Linked DNA regions of Homo sapiens: all the other regions are linked to region 3. Evidence: promoter capture Hi-C in 16 types of primary human blood cells and fetal thymus (Javierre and others, 2016). All regions are on one chromosome and are shown on one strand. Each heading gives the region's core, a stretch centred on a gene start or on the middle of the fragment in contact. The rest is flanking DNA. Distances are from core to core; before and after follow the strand shown.

Region 1 (2,993 bases), core at 387-2,886, 100 kb before region 3:
TGCCTGTACCAAAATATCTCATGTAACCCATAAATATATATACCTACCATGTACCTACAAAAATAAACATTAAAAAAGGGGTTCTAAGATATGTGAGTTACTACTCTTTGCAGTAAGTTCGATGATTTGAAGGGAAAGCATCTGAGCTATATCATCTCAGCCCTCTGCCAAAGTAACTTCACTGGATTATGATATGATTTACTGTCCCATGCTCTGCCTTCTGGAGGATCCATGTAGGAATGGCCTGTTGACCAGCCTGGCCAACATGGCAAAACCCCCCATCTCTACTAAAAAAATACAAAAATTAGCCTGGCATGGTGGCATGCACATGCAGTCCCAGCTACTTGGAAGGCTGAGGCAGGAGAATCGCTTAAACCTGGGAGGCAGAGGTTGCAGTGAGCCAAGATGGCGCCACTGCCCTCCAGCCTGGGCAACAGAGCAAGAGACTGTCTCAAAAAAAAAAAAGGAATGGCCTATTGAGTGTGACTGCATCTTTCCAAACTAAGCCTCCTGCTTTACCTATTTTCTCTTAAACACAGTTCCAAGACATTCTTCTCCTTGGGTTTCCCTTCAAAAGAATTTATCTCTGTATAAGAATAAACATTTGTCTTTGTTAAACGATAAAAATAGTGTCACTTAAAATACATTTCCATATTTTCCCTTGATACTGGGAATCACAGGGTCAAATTCAGTGCCAGGTGAAGGGTGGAGGGCATTCTAATTGTTCCCCTTCTCACAATGTCTCTTCTCCCTCCCTCCCCAGTCCCTTCCATAGGAAACAGGGAATGTTTGTTTCTGTCTTCTGGTAGGAGAAGGATTGGTCCCACCCCCAGCTCCAGGGATGGATCTTGATTGTTTAAGCCCAGTCAGGTAAACCCCACACCTGTTGCACAGTGATTAACCCAGTGGCAGTCATGCCAAGAGGTTTGTTCATGGCTGGGCATGTGACCTGTGCAGGCCACCAGCATGCTTGCTGAGGACTTTGGGAAGAAGGCTCTTCAGTCTTCTGATAGACCTCCCCAAGACGGCCCTCTCTCTGTGTCCTTCTGGATGTTTGGGACATGAAGCTTGGGGCTGCTGGAGTTACCTTGCTGTCACGAGGGAAGCTACCCCTAGGATGTGGTTGACGAAGTAGAAAGAAAGAAAATAGGCCCTTATTGGCCAGGCACGGTGGCTCACGCCTGTAATCCCAGCACTTTGGGAGGCCGAGGCGGGCGGATCACGAGGTCAGGAGACCGAGAGCATCCTGGCTAACATGGTGAAACCCCGTTTCTACTAAAAAATACAAAAAAAAAAAATTAGCGGGGCATGGTGGTGGGCGCCTATAGCCCCAGCTACTCGGGAGGCTGAGGCAGGAGAATGGCGTGAACCCAGGAGGCGGAGCTTGCAGTGAGCCGAGATCATGCCACTGCACTCCAGCCTGGGCGACAGAGCAAGACTCCGTCTCCCAAAAAAAAAAAAAAAAAAAAAAAAAAGAGAGAGAAAATAGGCCCTTGTTTTCATCATAGAGCAACTGACTCAAACTCAACCTGAAGCCGCTGAACTTTCCATTTGCATGTGCCAGCAAACCACCTTTATTATGTAAGCCCTTTCAAATTAGGTTTCTTACTTGCATCTTAGAATCCAAATGGTGCTTAATAGATACATTTCCTTGTATTTTGTGTGTTTTAGTGATTCTAACCCATGGACCAAGACCCTGCCTTGGAGATTGGGGAACAGGTGTTGGAAGGGCTCTATTTTGGCAAAGAATGGATTATTTATGTGAGCATATTTCCGCAAAGTAAGGAAATGTCTTGCCTATATATGTATTAATATTTTTCAAATTTATCTTGTTTTGATGAAATATAAATTTAGATAAAAATACTAAAAATACTGAATTTGTAGGTTTTTATCCTGCATTTTTCACAATGAGCAGATGTTAGAAGCATCATGTAAATTTGTCCAAAAAGATGTTGTTTTTTGCAGAAATTTTTGACTTGAGGAAGAAGCTCTTGCTTAGATAGATGTTTCCACCCTCTGTCCCTCCTTCTTTTCCTTCCTTCTTCTCTTCTCCAGCCTTCACTCCCTGCTGCCTTCCTTTTTTTCCCTCTTAGTCTCTGTTATTACCCTGTTTTCCTTCTGTTGAGTCTTGTTACTCAAACTCTGTTAGAAATAGTTGAGATATAAATTCTAATTAATTTTATTTGGATGCCTATGTTAAGCTTCATTTAACTTTTCAGATCCTGCATCTATGAGTTCGACATAAATGCAAACAAATAATGGGTATTGAGTGCTTTAATAGCAAGGGACCCAAACTGAAGTTCATTCCCCATGCAACAAATTGGGTGTTGGATGGGAATGCTTATAATGATTGACCCCGGTTTTTGGTAGTAAGCAAGCAACTGCAAGTGAACTGTAACTGATGTATTTAATGAGTGCTCACTGTGTGCACATTGCCATTAGTGTAGCTGAGTGGTGCAGCACTGAACCCTTACCTCAAAGATCTTATAGTTCATTGGAGAGAAGAGACATGTACACCAGATACTGTGTAAGCCAGGGCTGTGTTTTATAAGGGAATATGTAAGTTGACATCTGGAACCTCTTTCTTAGAATTATCCTACCAGAAGAGCCCTCTAGAACCTTGTGTTTAATAAATATTGATCACCGCCATTATAAAATATGCTGTTTGTTAATAAAACATATTTTCTTTATTTTATTTTATTTTTTTAATTATACTTTAAGTTTTAGGGTACATGTGCACAACGTGCAGGTTTGTTACATATACATGTGCCATGTTGGTGTGCTGCACCCATTAGCTCTTCATTTAACATTAAGTATATCTCCTAATGCTATCCCTCCCCACTCCTCCTACCCCACAACAGGCCCTGGTGAGTGATGTTCCCCTTCCTGTGTCTGTGTGTTCTCATTGTTCAATTCCCACCTATGAGTGAGAACATGCGGTGTTTGGTTTTTTGTCCTTGCGATAGTTTGCTGAGAATGATGGTTTCCAGCTT
Region 2 (2,924 bases), core at 341-2,840, 80 kb before region 3:
CGAGGTCAGGAGATCGAGACCATGCTCGCTAACACGGTGAAAACCCGTCTCTAATAAAAATACAAAAAATTAGCTGGGCGTGGTGGCAGACACATGTAGTCCCAGCTACTTGGGAGGCTGAGGCAGGAGAGTGGCGTGAACCCGGGAGGTGGAGCTTGCAGTGAGCCGAGATCGCGCCACTGCACTCCAGCCTAGGCGACAGAGCGAGACTCCGTCTCAAAAAAAAAAAAAAAAAAAAAAAACAGCACTGTTTGAGGGGGAAAAACAAGTAGAGAGCTCTAGCCTTGAGCCCTTGGCTGATGGTGATTACTAAATGCAGAAATTATTGTGACCCTTAAGTAACCAGAGGGCAAATTGAGGCCAGCTCTGGGCTTGACATTGCTTTGACATTTGAGGATTTAGACTTGAGTTCTTTGTAACTTTTTTGTTTTCAGCAGAAATCTGACAATTGCAACCAGCACATCCACTTACTGGACTGCCAAGGTCCTGCCCACACACATTCCTGAGGAAGGACAGTTTTCCACATGTTCTTTTTGTTATAGAGTCCTACTGACTTACCGTGGTCTAATCACCAAGCCTCATGTTAAAAGAGTTCTCTATTAATACATAAGAGTAAGCAATACAGACCCTCTTCTGACGGTATAAAAGTGTTATAAATACTAAGGATCATAATAACTGTCAAGCCTTTTTACCATTTATTTATTTATTTATTTATTTATTTAGAGACAGGGTCTTGCTCTGTTGCCCAGGCTAAAGTGCAGTAGCATAATCCCAACTCACTGCAGCTACGACCTCCCAGGCTTAAGCAGTCATCCGCCTCAGCTTCCCAATTAGCTGTGACTACAAGCATGCGTGTCACCATGCCAGCTATTTTTTAAATTTTTTGTAGAGACGGAGTCTCCTTATGTTGCCCAGGCTGTTCTCAAACTCCTGGGCTCAGGCAATCCTGTCTCCTTGGCCTCCCAAAGTGCTGGGATTGCAGGTATGAGCCACTGGTCCAGCCTCTTTTTTCATTTTTAGGAGACAGGGTCTTGCTCTGTTGCCCACATTACTGGAATGCAATGACGGAACCATAGCTCTCACTTCAGCCTCAAACTCCTGGGCTCATGAGATCCTCCCATCTCAGCCTCCCAAGTAGCTAGGACTACATTGTCAAGCCTTTTTAAAGAACAAAACAAAACACTAGAATAGTTCAGGTTGTAAAATCTTCGAACCCTCTGTAAGAAAAAAATGTCAAAATAGTTACAGGTAGTGGATGTATTGTTTAGTTGGTATTCAGAATGAATATAGTCTAAAAGAGAACACTGAATTTAGAATCAGAATATCTGGCTCTGCCAAAAATATGTCGTGTGTGACTGGTCATATCACCTCCCCTTTCTTGCTCGATAGCTCCTCAATACTACAATGAGGGAAGGCCAATAATAACCAATTCAGGAGACTATGAGGATGGATTGAGAAGGATATGGAAGTGCTTTGCAAGCTTTCGTGGACTTTGATGATGAAATTGAAGTGAATTCTGTTTTCTTTTCGGTCATGGAAACTTCCCAGCAAGCCAACTGATTTACTTAGGATTGGCTTGGGCAGCAGTAGGGTGGGTGGCTGCATCTGATTTTTGTTTCCAAGGTCAGCATTTTCCAAAGGAAGGGAAGAGAGAAACATTTAAAACAGAATGTTTTTTAAAAATATAAATTTAAGCTTCATTTATGATACAAGATTTCTTTTTAAAATATGTCTCGAGCTTTTAATTTTTTTTTAATTATGAAAATGTCAAATGTACATAAGAGCATATATATGAGCCATATATATCCCAACCCAACTTGAACAATTATAAGTTCATGGTCAAATTTATTTCATGTATTTCTACCCATCCCTCATTTTTTTCTAGGGGGTTGGGTTTTTCCTCCCAGTAAATCCTATATAACAAATTATTTTACCCATAAATATTCGAGTGTGCATCACCAACTGATTAAGACTTTTGTTTGTAACATAACTGAAATACCATTATCATACATAGCAACATTAACAGTAATTCTTTAATGTCATTTACTGCCTCCTGTGGTAGATGGGCTCCAAAAAATGGAGATGAAACCCCAGTTTCATCTATGACAGGTAAAGAATAGCCCATTTTCTTAATATATGGAGAACACTTGACATCCCATAGGAAAATGGACAAAAGATAATTTTATACAAAATCGTCAATGACATGTGAAAAGATATTCAGCCTTGCTCATAAAGAAATGTAGATTCCAAATACTAGTAATTAGTGTTTTATATATCAAATTAACAAAGACTGAAAATAGCAAGAATATGCAGTGATAGTGAGTGCATCCTCAGTTCTTTGGTGGTAACAGCGAAAATCAGTACAGTTTACTTGAAAGACAATTTTGTATTTTGCTAACAATATTTTAAATGCTACTGCAATTTTACTTGTAAGAAATTCAGTATTTCAGAAATTCTCAAATGTATAAAAATATGTGCAGGGATGGTCACCGAGTCATTGTAATAGTTAAAAACCTGGAGAAATGCAAATGTCTCTTATCAGGAGAATGGTTAAATAAACTATGATGCATCCATAACCTAGAATGCTGAAGTTGTTTAAAAGACTGAGGTAAACTAGAGATGGTGACATGGAAAGATATTGAAATTAAATAATTGTGAGACGAAAACTCAGGGTCAAAATAGGATGTAAAAATACAATTCCATTTTTGGTTTTTTAAAAGAATTAATTATAGTAAGCTATGCCTAGGAAACATGCCTGAAATCATATATACTGCACTGTTAACAATGGTTTATCTCTGGGGGTGAATAGGAAGGATTTTCACTTTTCTTTCTTTCCGAGAGAGAAATTTCCACTTAGAGCATAATTTGAAACAAAGTAAAAAGGATAAATTTCAAAGTAAGTCTTTGTTGCTAGCACTAAATAG
Region 3 (3,032 bases), core at 1-2,500:
CCCACTAGAGACCAGCGCAAAAGCAGCCAAGCTCAGGCCTGGGAAGGCGAAAAGGCAGGAAACTAAGAGAAGCCGCTCCCGCTCCCTGAAGCCACCGGACAGAGGACAAAGGGCTAGACTCACAAACTAGCTGCACTCCTGAGAAGAATACCTGACTCCAAGGCGCTGGGGCAGGCCTTTATGGGGCCCATCTCCTGGGAACGTGCTTCCCAGGGCAAGGGGAGTCCCTGCCCTGGCATTGAGTGTCTGCCCACCCACATAGGCCTCCAAAACCCAGCTTTGGGACAAAAGTAGCAGAAAAAAAAAAAAAAAAATTCCAGCCACTGGCTTCTCTCAGGCTTCTCCAAACCAAACAAGACCACCTTCCTCCCTCTCCCCCAGAGGGAGATGAGTAGGCCCAGCTCTGCTCCAAGACCAGCCCTACCCAACATCTGCCTAAGTTCTACTTAGGGAACCCAAAGATTCCTTTGCAAATAAGAGCCCAGCCTGGGGGCCCGGAGAGTTTCACAGACTGCTCTTTCTGGATAAAGAGTGGGCGGGGACCGTCTGGTCAGGCCCCAGGTTCCCGTGCAGGGTGGGGGCCACTGCCTTAGCTCCCCTCGCCGACGCCGCCACCACTCCCAGGGTCTGGGGGGCCCGATGCCTGCACCGCAGGTCTCCAGCCCGCGAGGATTTTTAGGCCTCAGGGCAAAGCGCCTGGAACACTCCCCCCAGCTGGGGGAGGGGGGGTGTCCTGTCAGGTGACCGAGGACCCGGATGCCCCCCGCCCCCAGTGACCACCCGAGACGAAGCGGGGGCGGGGCCCGGAGGGAGTCTGGGAGGGCCCGAAAGTTTGCCCAAGTCGCTGGGGCGGCCGGCCGGGGTGCAAGCAGTCGGGCCGGGCTCCCACGACCCCCGCGCGGGGCGGGCCCAGGCAGGAAGTGGGCGCACTTACTGGCCCCCTCGATCTTGTCGGCGCCCCGGCTCCACGTGATCTGGCGCGTCTCCAGCTTGACCTGGAAGGTCTTCCGCTCGGGTCGCTGCGACTTCTTGGAGTAGAACAAAGTCATGACGGTGCCCACCTCGAGGCTGCGGCAGAGGTGCAGCACCTCGGCGTCCGAGGGCGCGCCGGGCCCGCAGCCGTTGGCGCAAGGGGACGCGGCGCCCGCCATGGCTCCGACGCTGGGGGCGGCGGCGGCACAGGCCAGGACCGCCCGGGAGCAAGCGCAACGGCGGCGGCTGAGGTTGGGGCTGAGGCTGAGGCGGCAGACGAGCGGGACCCGGCGGCGGCTCCTGCAGGCGGACACGGGGCGGGGCCTCAGCGCGGCGGGGCGGGGCTGCCCTGAGGCCCCACCCCGCTTCGGCGCCGGGAACAAAGGCGCCCGCGCACCCGTGGGGAGGACCCCCGCCCGTCGGCCCGCCGCGCCTGCGCCCCGCGACCCCCAGACAGGCCGCAGGCGGGGACGGAGGCGCGATGGCGGCGGGAGCGCGCGCCGTTCCCGGTCGACCCACCCAGCCCTCAGTCCCGCAGAGCTTTCTCACGCGGCCCCGGACACAGCCCGGCGGCCACGAGCGGCCCTGTCACGCACGGCAGCCCCGCCCACAGGCCGCAGGCCCGGCGGCCGGCGCGTCAGTCAGGCGTACTCGCACGGGCGGCCGCTACCCCGCGGTCCCGCACAGACGCAGCCCCCGCGTCCCGAACACCGCCCATGCAGCGACCGGGACGGGACGTGAGGGGATGGCGCGTCCTCCGGGAATGCCCGGCCAAACTCAGTTACCTGGGCGGGCTTCCCGGACAAGGGAGCCAGGACGGGCCGCCTCACACCGGCGGCGGCGGGTCCTCCGCGCGCCCTCTCCCGGGAGGGGCGGGGGCGGGGCTGCCTGCGGATTGGTCGCGGGCACTGATGGACAGCCGACATGTCCCGCCCCCCCGGCAGCGCGGGGCTGGTCCGCAGGCAGTTCTGGCGACGGCCAGACCCACGTCTGTCTGTTCCGCCCCTGCTGCCAGGGTGGCTTTCAGTGGTCCTCTCTTTCGGAGAGTTCCCCCCAAGCGTGAGCACCCCTTACAGGGGCGTTAGGTCCGCGGCCGCGCTGTCCAGTGGTCTGACCTGCAGCTCCCAGGGCCTTTGTGTCTGTCCCTCGCATGGGCCTCTGCACGCTCCGTCCCCACGCGACAGGACTCGAGTCCGATTCGGGGCTCCGACTCAGACCCTACCCCGCAGCGCCCTCCTGCAAATGCTCTCCTGAACTTTGGTTTTCCCCGCCTTGCTTTCTTCCTCCTCCTGTAGCCGCTGCCTCTCGATCTCAGAAGCTTCTCTTCCTCTGCACTCAGTGCTAGGCCAGATCCCAAGGCGACCTGACCTTTCCCCTGGCTTTGCCCAACAACACAGGCACCGGTGACTCCAAACCTGCATCTCCCCTACGTTCCAGGCCCCAGCATCCCACTGCATGTTCCACATCCCCCCCCCTTAGACAGCTCGCCTTCCCTCCCCAAACGATTCCTTCCACAGTCTTCACTTTCTCAGAACGCGGCGCTAAACTTCTCTAAGTTGGAAGGTCAAAAACCTTGCAGCTAACTTTGATTCCTCCCTTTGCCTCACCTCCAATCCATCAAGACCTTGTCACTCAGCCCACAAGCTGAAGGCCCCATCTCCTGTCACCCAGACTACTCACCTTGTTTGGTTTTGCCTGGATCTATCAGTTTGGTTTTGCCTGGATTTATCATGCTTTAAATCTTTAAAATGAAATTAAATCATGATCCCCTACATCCAGGCTAAAACCCTCCGTGAATTCCCATTGCACCTAAAATCCACACTCCCTGCTTGGCCTAGCAGGTTCTATATGACCTGCCCATCTCACCAGTTTCATCTCTCACAAGTGATCCTTCACTCTCCATTCTCCAGCCACAAGGCCTTTTTCTGGTTATGGAATATAATTCATACTCTTTGTCTTTCTGAAGCCATTCTTGAAACTCACCCCTGCAATCTATCTACCCTTGTCAGCACCGCCAAAATTGAGGACACCCACGGTCGCGGTGGAGCCTGTCTGACATG

What was found. The method cuts DNA at HindIII sites, captures the fragments that hold promoters and counts their contacts. A CHiCAGO score of 5 or more calls a contact.
Region 1: a fragment that was not itself captured here is called in contact with the fragment with the promoter of PLCG1 in region 3 in 8 of 17 cell types (naive CD4 T cells, activated CD4 T cells, non-activated CD4 T cells and 5 more); the score reaches 24.2 in naive CD4 T cells.
Region 2: a contact is called between a fragment that was not itself captured here and the fragment with the promoter of PLCG1 in region 3, in 7 of 17 cell types (non-activated CD4 T cells, naive CD4 T cells, activated CD4 T cells and 4 more). The highest score is 16.8, in non-activated CD4 T cells.

Annotation. Positions count from the first base shown.
Region 1 is chr20:41,237,475-41,240,467 of GRCh38, reverse strand. The region is part of intron 2 of ZHX3 (zinc fingers and homeoboxes 3); the gene reads left to right. Among named protein-coding and RNA genes, the nearest start is that of MIR6871, 70 kb to the right of the region's middle. The HindIII fragment of the contact is 1,134 bases long and covers 1,070-2,203 here.
Region 2 is chr20:41,216,242-41,219,165 of GRCh38, reverse strand. All of the region lies in intron 2 of ZHX3 (zinc fingers and homeoboxes 3), which reads left to right. Among named protein-coding and RNA genes, the nearest start is that of MIR6871, 49 kb to the right of the region's middle. The HindIII fragment of the contact is 215 bases long and covers 1,483-1,697 here.
Region 3 is chr20:41,135,761-41,138,792 of GRCh38, reverse strand. It overlaps PLCG1 (phospholipase C gamma 1), which reads right to left and starts at 1,250. Exons shown (of 32, transcript NM_002660.3): 1 at 935-1,250. The coding sequence starts at 1,151. LOC124904903 (translation initiation factor IF-2-like) reads left to right here and starts at 1,280. Exons shown (of 2, transcript XM_047440629.1): 1 at 1,280-3,032. The coding sequence starts at 1,454. The coding sequence ends at 2,035. It overlaps PLCG1-AS1 (PLCG1 antisense RNA 1), which reads left to right and starts at 793. Exons shown (of 7, transcript NR_109889.1): 1 at 793-1,079; 2 at 2,982-3,032. RefSeq lists enhancers at 133-212, 361-460, 382-1,166, 1,951-2,735 and silencers at 611-870, 991-1,980. The HindIII fragment of the contact is 8,103 bases long and covers 1-2,292 here.